Linked DNA regions of Homo sapiens: regions 1, 2 and 3 are each linked to region 4. Evidence: promoter capture Hi-C in 16 types of primary human blood cells and fetal thymus (Javierre and others, 2016). All regions are on one chromosome and are shown on one strand. The core of a region is centred on a gene start or on the middle of the fragment in contact, and the rest is flanking DNA. Distances in the headings are between cores, read along the strand shown. Region 1 overlaps BCAS3 (BCAS3 microtubule associated cell migration factor). Region 2 overlaps BCAS3 (BCAS3 microtubule associated cell migration factor). Region 3 overlaps BCAS3 (BCAS3 microtubule associated cell migration factor). Region 4 holds the start of TBX2 (T-box transcription factor 2).

The links. Contacts are between HindIII fragments. The CHiCAGO score rates a contact against its expected background, and 5 or more counts as called.
Region 1: a fragment that was not itself captured here is called in contact with the fragment with the promoter of TBX2 in region 4 in 1 of 17 cell types (megakaryocytes); the score reaches 6.1 in megakaryocytes.
Region 2: a fragment that was not itself captured here is called in contact with the fragment with the promoter of TBX2 in region 4 in 2 of 17 cell types (M0 macrophages and megakaryocytes); the score reaches 5.4 in M0 macrophages.
Region 3: a contact is called between a fragment that was not itself captured here and the fragment with the promoter of TBX2 in region 4, in 1 of 17 cell types (M2 macrophages). The highest score is 5.7, in M2 macrophages.

The regions. Positions count from the first base shown.
Region 1 is chr17:60,872,908-60,875,607 of GRCh38, reverse strand. BCAS3 (BCAS3 microtubule associated cell migration factor) reads right to left here. Exons shown (of 24, transcript NM_017679.5): 9 at 870-946. Among named protein-coding and RNA genes, the nearest start is that of BCAS3, 200 kb to the right of the region's middle. The HindIII fragment of the contact is 1,435 bases long and covers 659-2,093 here.
Region 2 is chr17:60,849,761-60,852,460 of GRCh38, reverse strand. All of the region lies in intron 7 of BCAS3 (BCAS3 microtubule associated cell migration factor), which reads right to left. It also overlaps the pseudogene HMGN1P28. Among named protein-coding and RNA genes, the nearest start is that of BCAS3, 170 kb to the right of the region's middle. The HindIII fragment of the contact is 905 bases long and covers 877-1,781 here.
Region 3 is chr17:60,825,372-60,828,071 of GRCh38, reverse strand. All of the region lies in intron 7 of BCAS3 (BCAS3 microtubule associated cell migration factor), which reads right to left. Among named protein-coding and RNA genes, the nearest start is that of BCAS3, 150 kb to the right of the region's middle. The HindIII fragment of the contact is 2,594 bases long and covers 124-2,700 here.
Region 4 is chr17:61,398,397-61,401,096 of GRCh38, reverse strand. TBX2 (T-box transcription factor 2) reads right to left here and starts at 1,254. Exons shown (of 7, transcript NM_005994.4): 1 at 526-1,254. The coding sequence starts at 920. TBX2-AS1 (TBX2 antisense RNA 1) reads left to right here and starts at 1,491. Exons shown (of 2, transcript NR_125751.1): 1 at 1,491-1,858. RefSeq lists a cis regulatory region at 1,170-1,181 and promoters at 1,170-1,417, 1,037-2,297. The HindIII fragment of the contact is 11,976 bases long and covers 1-2,700 here.

The DNA.
Region 1 (2,700 bases), core at 127-2,626, 530 kb after region 4:
TTCAAATAGCAATAAAAACTAAGAATACATACACTATTCTCTCTTCTAAGTAAAAGGTTTTTTCACTCTTTTCTCTGTCATATATGGTTTAAATTGAGAAATTATAGTAAAATTGGTAATACGAAACTGCTAAATTGCTTTCTTTGAAAATGTGCCAACTTCTATACTGATTCTGCCAATATATTTTCCAAGGCTTTATGTGTTTACATTTTTTTCCATCATACAGAAAATCTGTAAGTTGACCCAAATGAGGACTTACCACAAATTCTCCTATTAGAAAATCTCAAGCTGCCAAATACTCCCACAGAAAAGCTGCAAATATTATCAATTTACAAAAACAAACAAAAGTTTTAAAGGAAATTGTGCTTACAGCTTTATAAGTACATAAGTTTATTTAACAGTATTGAAGATTTTTGAACACTCTTTTAAAATATAAGTCCTTATTCGAAAAATATATTTTTTTCACCTTTTGGTTAAATGACAGATACTAATGTTAGTAGAAACAAATTTTGCTCATATGTAAAGGTATAATGTATAAAAGTACGGTATGTTAAGCAATTTAACAACTGCTTTGAAAGTATGAAACAGCTATATGAAACTAAATCACAAACTCAAGGATAGTATGTAAGGAGAAAGTGAGGTAACCCACAACAAAGCTTGCTTAGTAATATAAAGAAAATGTGTTGGAAAGTTGAAAATATATATCATACAAGAATATTACTCAATGAGAATAGCCACAGAATCACAAGAAAATCATCAAAATTGAAAACATTAAGTACTGTTGAGAAAATTACAGTTAGTTTGCTGATTGTGTCAAGTAAGTAGTATAAACCCAAAGGCATAAGAAGGGAAAAAAAATTGGTACATACTTGTAACAAAGAATTTCTTCGTGAAAGTACAGCTATCAAAGGCAGCAATTTTCTCCTGCAAGACTACGACAAGGATCCTAAAATTAGAGAGAGAAAAAAAACAGAAAGAAAAAAAGTGAATGTGAAATTCTGTAAGTGGAATCAGAAATGCATTATATCATCTAGATGAAAACAAGTGCCTACTAATACAATTTTAAAATTAAACATTTCCTATAATATTTAGGCTAGAAACTTCTGCCTCTTAAAATGTGTAAAAATATAAACCACAAAATCCTATATATAAATAAGATAGAGATGACTAGAAGAAAAGTGATGGAAGAAAAAACTACCACCTCAAAAAATGTTTGTCTTTTAATAGTTTTGTTTCAGCCAGGCATGGTGGCTCATGCCTACAATCCCAACATTCCTGGAGGCCAAGGCAGAAGGATCACTTGAGCCCAGGAGGTTGAGACCAGCCTGGGCAACAAAGGAAGACCCTGTCTCTATAAGAAATAATACAAATAAACTAGCCAGGTGTGGTGGTGTGAGCCTGTAGTCCTAGTTACTCAGGAGGCTGAGGCAGGAGGATCACTTGAGCCCAGGAGGTCAAGACTGCAGGGAGCTACGATCACACCACTGCACGCCAGCCTGGGCAACAGCAAGATCTTGTCTCTAAAAATATGAATACACAAAGTAAAGTTTTGTTTTCATTTATTTTTGAATCGAATAAGTCTACAGTAAAGATGGATAAGATCAAGCCCAGCACAGTGTTGCACACCCGTAATCCCAGCTACTCAAGAGGCTGAGGCAGGAGAATCACTTGAGCCCAGGAGATTGAGACCAGCCTAGGCAACATAGTGAGATCCTGTCTCAAAAGGAAATGAAAAAAAAAGAATGGAGAAGATAATAAATTGTTGGCTATCTACTAAAGTGTTTTTCCAGTGATGTTTTAGTCATGGTATTAAAGATAAAATGGATTTATGTAACCCATCACTTTAAGTTTAAATGGCGGATGAATTTCCCAACTGCTACTCATAAATATAAGTCATTTCTGATTGACTCAATATAGTAAAATTCACTAACAATCTGTAAAAGCAGTATTTTTCTCAATGCCCAAGATTTACAGATAATTAGAAAATAATTTAGTTATAAACACTTTTTTAAAGCAAAATTCCTAAAATACATCCAAAGCCACCACTTTATATTGTGCTATCCTTGCAGCATATTAATATAAATAGCCAAGCTTAATATTTACTTCAAAAAATCAAATAGAGATTATAATTGTTACTAAATATTTAACAAACTAATAGCTTATTTTTCAAAATTGGAAGCTGGTAAATCTGAGCAACAGATGCTAATATGAGTATAAAAAAAGGAAAATGTATTATTTCATATGCATGCTTTATTAATTTTGTTCATCTTTAAAAACAACAATTTCATTTACTGATGCAGAATAATTCTAATGAGTGACTACTGTTAGATCCTTGCAATTTTTTTTTCTAGCTGGGCCTGTTAAAAACTTTTCTCTATATATTTTACTGGGTTGCTTCTTACTAATAAGTGATAATTTGCTATATATGTGTATGTGTACTCTGAATACACAAAAAGGTAGAGATAATATCCTTATAAAGGTGATAATATCAAATTTTAGAATTACTCAATTGTAAATTCCATTTCTGTTCTGTTACTATACTAAAGCCTCAGACCACCTTGCCTACATGTTATATCAACTTAATACCCTTTTAATGCCCTGATAGAAGAAAAGGCATTTCCATATCTAATTACCAATGTCTGTACTATTCCTCTACACACAGCGTTTGACAGAAAATATCAAATAATGAAACACACACAC
Region 2 (2,700 bases), core at 80-2,579, 550 kb after region 4:
AGTATCTTCACAATTTGATAAGCTGTTACACACATCCCACCAATTCACAACTGAATAGCATGTATACTACATATTCAATTTTTTAATCTTTCACAGCACAGTAACAAAGTTATTAGGAAAACAGGACAACCACAACCAACGATGTTACAGAGTGGACACAATTCTGACAGGGAGAGCCATAATCAAAGAGTGGTTTTCTTTAGGAAACAATTCTACTAAAAAACAACATGGGTGCAGCACACCAACATGGCACATGTATACATATGTAACTAACCTGCACATTGTGCACACATACCCTAAAACTTAAAGTATAATAAAAAAAAAAACCACGGGAATAGAAGTAATTTAAAATGTTCAAGACATTAAATGCAGGACTGACTCCATATTGCCATTTAATATGCTTTGTATTATAGGATATGAAAACTATCCCCCATCTATGAAATGTTAAGCTGACACCCAAGACAGTCAAAGCTTCCCATAATTCAATATCCCACACTATTTTCTGGTTGTACCAAAAAATAAACAACCAGCAAATGATTTCACCTCTTAAAAAAAAGCATTTACACTTAAAAAATGGGATGAGGTGAGATTCCCTTCTTAAAAATGTTTCTAGAGCTACTAAAAAACTTGCATTTACAAAATAGTTGATAAAAATATTCCTCTGGATTGTACAAGAAGGGAGACAGGGACCACTGATAAGACATGGTATATGGTATTAATCAGACTTGGCTTCTTTCTCTCCTGCTTCATCAGAGGCTGGACTCCCCTCAGTTTTCATTTCCCCCTTTTCTGCAGGTAAATCTTCTTTAGTTTCTTTCAGCCTGTTTTCCCTTTGCTCCCCTTTGCCCTTTTATTTGTACTTCCTCGTTTCAAGCTTTAACCCAAGTTTTGGGTAGAAATTATTCACCCCGTGAAGAACATGTAGAGCTTTACAGATGGTGGTTTCAATGCTTTGCTGCTGCCTTTTTCGGCTTCGCTTCCATTTTTGCAGGAGCAAGTTTAGCTGACAACCGCGGCGATCTCCTCTTGGCCTCTTCCTTGGCGGCCCCTTCGGTGGAGCTGACCTTCCTCTCGGGCATCCTGGTGGCGGGGAGGACGTGTGCCAGGTGCCTGCGGGCCGCAGCATGCCGAGAGCCTTTGCGAAGCTGGGCTGCCTGGCTGCTGCCACTCCTCCTGCAGCCCGAGCTGCTGAGACCCTTTTGCTCATTTTTTAATAGGATTGTTCATTTTCTTACTGTTCAGGTTTAAGAGTTTTTTAGTTCTTTAGTCAGACGTGTCTTTCACCAATATTTCCTCACCATCTGCAGCCCATCTTCTCACTCTCTTAAAATAATCTTTCACGGAGCAAAAGTTTTTAATTTTAATAAAGCCCAACTTACTGATTTTTTCATTTATGATTGCGCTTTCGGTGTTGTACTTAAGAGGTCATCGCCAAAACTCAAGGTCACCTAGATTTTCTATGTTATCTTCTAGGAGCATTGCCTTTCCATACAAACTTTAGAATTACTTAGTACATATCCACAAAATAACTTGCTTGTATTTTTATAGGAATTGCACTGAATGCATAGATCAACTTAGGAAGAGATGACATTTATATTTTTTTATTTCATGTATCAGTATTTTGTTGTTTTACTCATATAGATCTTTTGCTTGTTTTACACTTAAGTATTTCATTCTTTGTTGCTAATAAAAGTATTATTCAGCAACAAAAAGAAATGAGCCATCAAGCCAGAAAAAGAAATGAGGGAACCCTGAATGCATATTGCTAAGTAAAAGAAGCTTGTCAGAAAAGGTCTAAAATTGGCCGGGCGCAGTGGCTCACGCCTCTAATCCCAGCACTTTCAGAAGCCGAGGCAGGCAGATTACCTGAGGTCAGGAGTTCGAGACCAGCCTGACCAATATGATGAAACCCCATCTCTACTAAAAATACAAAAATTAGCTGGGTGTGGTGGCGGGTGCCTGTAATCCCAGCTTCTCAGGAGGCTGAGACAGAAGAATCATTTGAACTGAGGAGGCAGAGGTTGCAGAGAGCCGAGATCACGCCATTGCACTCCAACCTGGGCAACAAGAGCAAAAACTCCATCTCAAAAAAAAAAAAAAAAAAAAAAAAAAAAACAGTGGTGCCAGGAGTTAGGGGGAGGGAAAAAAGGAGTAATAAGCAGAGTACAGGGAATTCTCAGGACAGAGGAACTATCTTTATGATACTGTAATAGTGGGTACAGAGCATCATACATTTCTCAAATGCCACACAATGTACAACTCAAGGGGTGAAACTTAATATAAACTATGGATATTAGTTGTATCAGTATCAGCACACTGACTGAAACAAATGTACTAGCCACACTAATTTAATGTGTTAATGATGGGAGAAAGTGGATGTATCAAAGAATAGGGGAGTCCAGGCACCAAGTGCAGTGGGTTCCGTCTCTAATCCCAGCACTTTTGGAGGCCAAGGTGAGATGATTGCTTGAGCCCAGAAGTTCAAGACCATCCTGGGCAATGTAGCAAGACCCTATCTCTACAAAAAATAAAAAATCAGCGAGGCACGGTAGCACGCCTGTAGTCCCAGCTACTTGGGAGGTTGAGGCAGAAGGATCACTTCAGCCCAGGAGTTCAAGACTACATACAATGTGCTATGATTGTGCCACTGTACTCCAGTGACAGAGTGAGAGCCTGTCAAGAAGAAAGAAGGAACAGGAG
Region 3 (2,700 bases), core at 171-2,670, 570 kb after region 4:
CTATTTATATGTCAAGACTGCATCCTTCTTGGTGGCTGAAAAAAAACTATTGTTTTGAAATGATTACACAGAGAAACTGCAAGCCTTTTAGTTGTTTTATGAACTGGTTCTAGATGGAAAGCTTTACTTTTTGGTTAAGTTGTAGAGCAGAAGAAAAAACAACTTTGAACTCAATACCTTTACCTTTATATTTTTAACTGTATACTAAAGTCACTTTGAACTATGTGACAGCAAAGTATTTCCCAAAAAAACCTCATTACAAAGTGAAGATGGCACTGCTACTCGGGAAGACTTATTACATAGAAACACGCTTCTTCTACAGGGGGAGGAACAGGAAGGGTGCATTACAAAGAAACATGAGAAAACTATTGTGGGTGATGGATATGCTCATTATCTTGATTGGAATGTGATGGCTTCATGGACATATACAGATGTCAAAATTTATCAAACTGTACACTTTAAATATATGCCGTTCATCATATTTCCATATACCTCAATAAAGACACACACAAAAATACACACACATGTAGCTTTATACTATATGAGCTTCTACTGGGAATATGAACACATTACCATTTTCCAATGAAAGTAAAGACCTCTAGATGCAGTACTCGGTTAGGCAATGAAGACTGGCCAATCTGTAGCACAAGCACCAGATAAGCTGGGTACAGCCCTATTTCTCGAACAGTCATAGAGGCAAAACTCCCACTCAAAGAAAGTATATAAATATAAATGAAAAGAAATTCCTGGTGAAGAGTGATATCTAACTATCCTTAATACCTTCCTGACCCAAATAGTATGAGGCACACCTAACATGTATCAGGATGTAATCAATACTTGAAAACAGTGCCTCATTGAATTCACACAAGAACCAATCACAGCAGTTTTATATAAGCACTGCTTTACAAATAAGGAAAGTGAGCCTAAGAACTGTTGAGTAATTTAGTTTACACAGCTAGTAACTCACAGCTAGGTCTATGTGACTCCAAAACCCTTGTTAGTTCCATTATTCTATATTTTCATCCATGGATTCAGGAATATCAATAAATATTATGGAGTATAAACCTTACGTTAAACCTACATATGAAAAAAATTATCAAATACAAAATCATATTTGTATCCATTAAACAGAAATATCACTACAAGCAGAGTTCCTGTTAAATTGCAAAAGCTGCCACTGAAGGCCTAATATCATCCACGTTATCATTATGCCAGTATTTGTTTTGTGGGCTTCTTTCTTCAGATATACATTATAGACTACTATCTTCTGGTGATCTTTCTTTATGTCCCATTTCTAAGTACTCCTGTTAAATTTCCAGGCAAATAGCTCAGGAGAGATGAGAAGAAAGACAAGAATTAGATGTAGCTCATGGAAAACATACCTCTTTGCAACATTGCTACATGAAATATATGGTAGTAAAATGGTTAGGGAGAGAACCCCATTTTAATAAATATGTGGCCAATTTTTATTCTTAAGTTTAGAATCAGACAGTATAGAAGCAAACCTTTCACAAATATTTTCTTCTTTTTTACCTTACCAGCTGCAATGGTCTGAATGTGTCCCCCAAAATTCATATGCTAAATTTTTGAATTGGACCAGCTATAGTGGTGGCTCACGCCTGTAATCCCAGCACTTTGAGAGGCCGACACGAGAGAATCACTTGAGCCCAGGAATTTGAGGCAACATGGCAAAACCCCATCCCTACTAAAAATACAAAAAATTAGCTGCACATGGTGGTGCACTCATGTAACCCCAGCTACTCAGGAGGCTGAGGCTTGAGAATTGCTTGAAACCGGGAGGTGAAGGCCGCAGTAAGACGAGATTACACCGCTGCGCTCCAGCCTGGGCAACAGAGCGACACTCTGTCTCAAAATTAATTAATTAATTAATTAATCAATCAAAAATAAAACTAGCCAGACGAGGTGGCTCATGCCTGTAATCTCAACATTTTGGGAGGCCAAGGAAGGAGGATCACGAGGTCAGAAGTTTGAGACCAGCCTGGCCAACAAAATGAAACCCTGTTTCTACTAAAAATACAAAAAAAAATTAGCCAGGCATGGTGGCGGGCTCCTGTAATCCCAGCTACTTGGGAGGCTGAGGCAGGAGAATTGCTTGAACCTGGGAGGCGGAGGTTACAGTGAGCTGAGGTCACACCACTGCACTCCAGCCTGGGTGACGGTGCGAGACTTCGTCTCAAAAAAAAAAAAAAAAAACTGAATCCCCAGAGATAGTATTAAGAAGTGGGGCCTTTAGGAGGTGATTAAGTCATGAGGGCAGAGCTTTCCCAATCTCATGAATGGGATTAGCAACCTTACAAAAGAGGTTGCAGAGAACACCCTAGGCCCTTTTTTGCCCTTCCACCATGTGAGGACATGGAGTTCAAGGTGCAACCTTGGAAGCAAAGACTGAGCCTTCTTCACCAGACACCAAACCTGCCACTGCCTTGATCACAGACTTTCCAGCATCCAGAACTGTTATTTATAAATTATTATAAATAATAATTATTTATAAATTATTATAAATAATTATTTATAAATTATTATAATATTTATAAATTATTATAAATAATTATTATTTATAAATTACCAAGTTTGTGGTATTTTGTTACAGTGCAAGGAACAAACTAGGACACCAGCATACTCTGACACAAAATCTTATAAAGCCACACATGAGATTCGGAGATGTGGTGAAAGCACAAG
Region 4 (2,700 bases), core at 5-2,504:
TGCCCGCGGTGGAGAAAGGGCTCCCAGCCCGGTGAGGCGGAGGGCTCGGCTGACCCGGGGCTCGCTGCCAGGAACCGAGCAACCAGCGTGGGGTTAGCTGGGCCCAGGTCCCACTAGGGGCTTCGGGGTCGGAGCAGAGTCTGAGAGAGGCTGAATTTCCCCCGAGCTCGGAGACGGACCCGGACGCAGAAGAGCGAGAGCGCGGGGCGGAGGAGACCGCCAGGGCCAAGCCGCGGGGCCTCCTCTGCGCTGGGACTCAGAACGGTTGGGGCTATTCTTTAGCAGTATGTTTTCGTTTTATTTCATTCGGAGGATTTTAGCGTTTTTGTTTTAAAAAAAAATCGCTCCGGTGCCAAACGAGAAAAGTCAACTTGGTTGTCCGTGGGAGCGAAGCGTGGCGTCAGGGCCAGAACCTGGAGCCGGGAGCCGGGAGCCGGGAGTCCCCAGCTCTGCTCTGATCCGTGCAGTCCCGTGCCCCAGCCCGCCCGCCCGCCCGCGCGCCTTCCAGCCGGCCGGCAGCCCTACCTCCCGGACTTGGTGATGACCATCTCCGTGCCTAGCTTGTGGAACTGGTCCCACAGCTCCTTGGCCTCCAGCGTCACCTTGGGGTCGTCCTCCACCTCGTCCTCGGGCTCCAGGCTCTTGAGGGAGCGCAGATGCGCGGCGGGCGGGTGCGGGCCCAGTGCCGAGACGTGCAGCCCCGCCTCGGCCGCTGCTGCCGCCGCCGCCGCCGCGGCCGCCGCCCCCGCCAGGCCCGGGTCGGGCAGCGGCTTGGCCAGCGCGCCGGGCGGCAGCGCGAGTGCCGGGAAGAAGGAGGGCTGCGCCGCCGCCAGAAAGGCGGACATGGGGAAGTCGGCGGGCCGTGGCGCGTGGAACGGGTGGTAAGCCATGGCGCTGGCCGCCAGCGCCGGCTCTCTCATCGGGACATCCGGCCCAGGCGCCCGGGGGCCGGGGCCGGGGCCGGGGGCGCGCGGCTCGGACCCCCGGCCCGGGCGGCGGCGCGCGCGGTGGACGGACGACCCGGGTGGCGGGCGCAGCAGCTGCTCCTCGGGGCTTCCCGTCCGGCGCACCGCAAGGGGCACCCGGCTCTGTGCGCGGGGGCGGCGGGGGCTCTGCGCGGGGCCGGGCTGGGCCGGGCTGAGCTGGCCCGCTCCGGCGCCGGGGACCACGCGCGACTGGTTAGATCTTGTCGTGATCTCTGGAAAACTGTGACTATCTCACATGTCCTGCCCAGCTCGGATCCCCTGCGCTAACGAGCCAGGCCCCCCTTGATTGCTGATTTTACGCTTTTTGGACCAATTGTGGGTCTCCGGGGGCGGGGTTTTGACAGCTCAGGCCAAGCTCCGGCCGGGAGGGGGGGCCTGGGAGAAGGTGTCGGAAGCCTCAGCAGTAAGAAAACATGTCAACAGAATAAAATATTAACCAATGACGGGCCGCCGGGCCCCGAGACCCCTCCTCCTGCCCCGGCCCCCACCGCCCGCCCGCGCCTGCGGCTGCCTGCGCCGGACTGGAGAGCGCGGAGGGCCGACCTGACCCGCCGAAAGGGCCTGAGGCGAGGGGAGCCCGGGTCCCGGGGCCTTGGGGAAGGACCCGCAGCCGCACGCCGGCCCCAAGTGCAAAGCATTGACACGACCCCGAGCGGAGAGGGGGCGCCCTCCTTCTCCCGCGCCCAGAGGCCCGGCCGCTCTGGCCCGAGCCCCAGCCTGGCCTCCGACCCAGCTCCGGGTCGTGGCGCCGCCTGGGGGTCCCTGCGCCCCGGAAAGAGACAGCAGGCACTGGAAAGCGAGGCCGGTGGGCGGGCGAGTCGGGAGGCTCGGGCGGCCGAGGTCCGGGAGCGGATCCCAGGTGGCGGGAGCTGGTGAGTGGAGCCATGGCCGAGCCCTGCTGGGGCCGGCGCGGGCGGGAGCGGGACGCGGCCTTGCGCTGGGGAAACGCGGGGACCCCCTACCCGCGCCCGCCTTCACCGGAAGACTCGGAAGGAACCTGGAGTTCTCCGCAGGCCCGGGCCCCGCCCTGAGCTTTCCAGCGGCCGGGAGGAGCGGATCCTCGGGGCCAGGAAGGTGAGCGCACCTTTCGCTGAGCACAGGGCGGCACCGCGCGGGCGGACCCCGGATTCTCCACCCGCGACCCAACGAATTTTCGCCCTATCCGGTACCGGAGACGAAAGTCTCCTTCTTCCGAAATACCGGCTTCCTCTCTTCGCCCTGCCAACCACTTTTTTAGTTTCTTCTCATCTCTCGGAAGCGCACGTCTCCTAAGTTAAGGAGTGCTGAGTAACGCGTGAGGGAGTTGGGGTGTCTGCGAGCACCTGTGATTGAAGCCCCCTCTTCTGTGATCAGTCTTCGTTTTCTGTCTTCCGGCAGCCTCAGTTTCCCCCCCATGAAGTGATGGTGTGTGTGTGTGTGTGTGTGTGTGTGTGTGTGTGTGTGTGTGTGTCGGGCCCCGTGTGGTGCCCTCTGTGCGCAGCGAGAGCTATAACTCAAGGTGTGCACGGGGAGAGTGAAGCGACCACGCACCTGCTTCCAATCGGGCTCGGGCGCGAACACTCAGGCTGATTCCTGAAGGTCGTTTTCTGAAGGAAAAGACAGAGCATGCACTAGCCACGGGTGACATTCCCACCCGTACAACCGCGTGGTGGGCGCGTACATCCAACATTGACCCATGCAGGCGCCCGCCCACTGCGCACACCGGTCGCAGGGC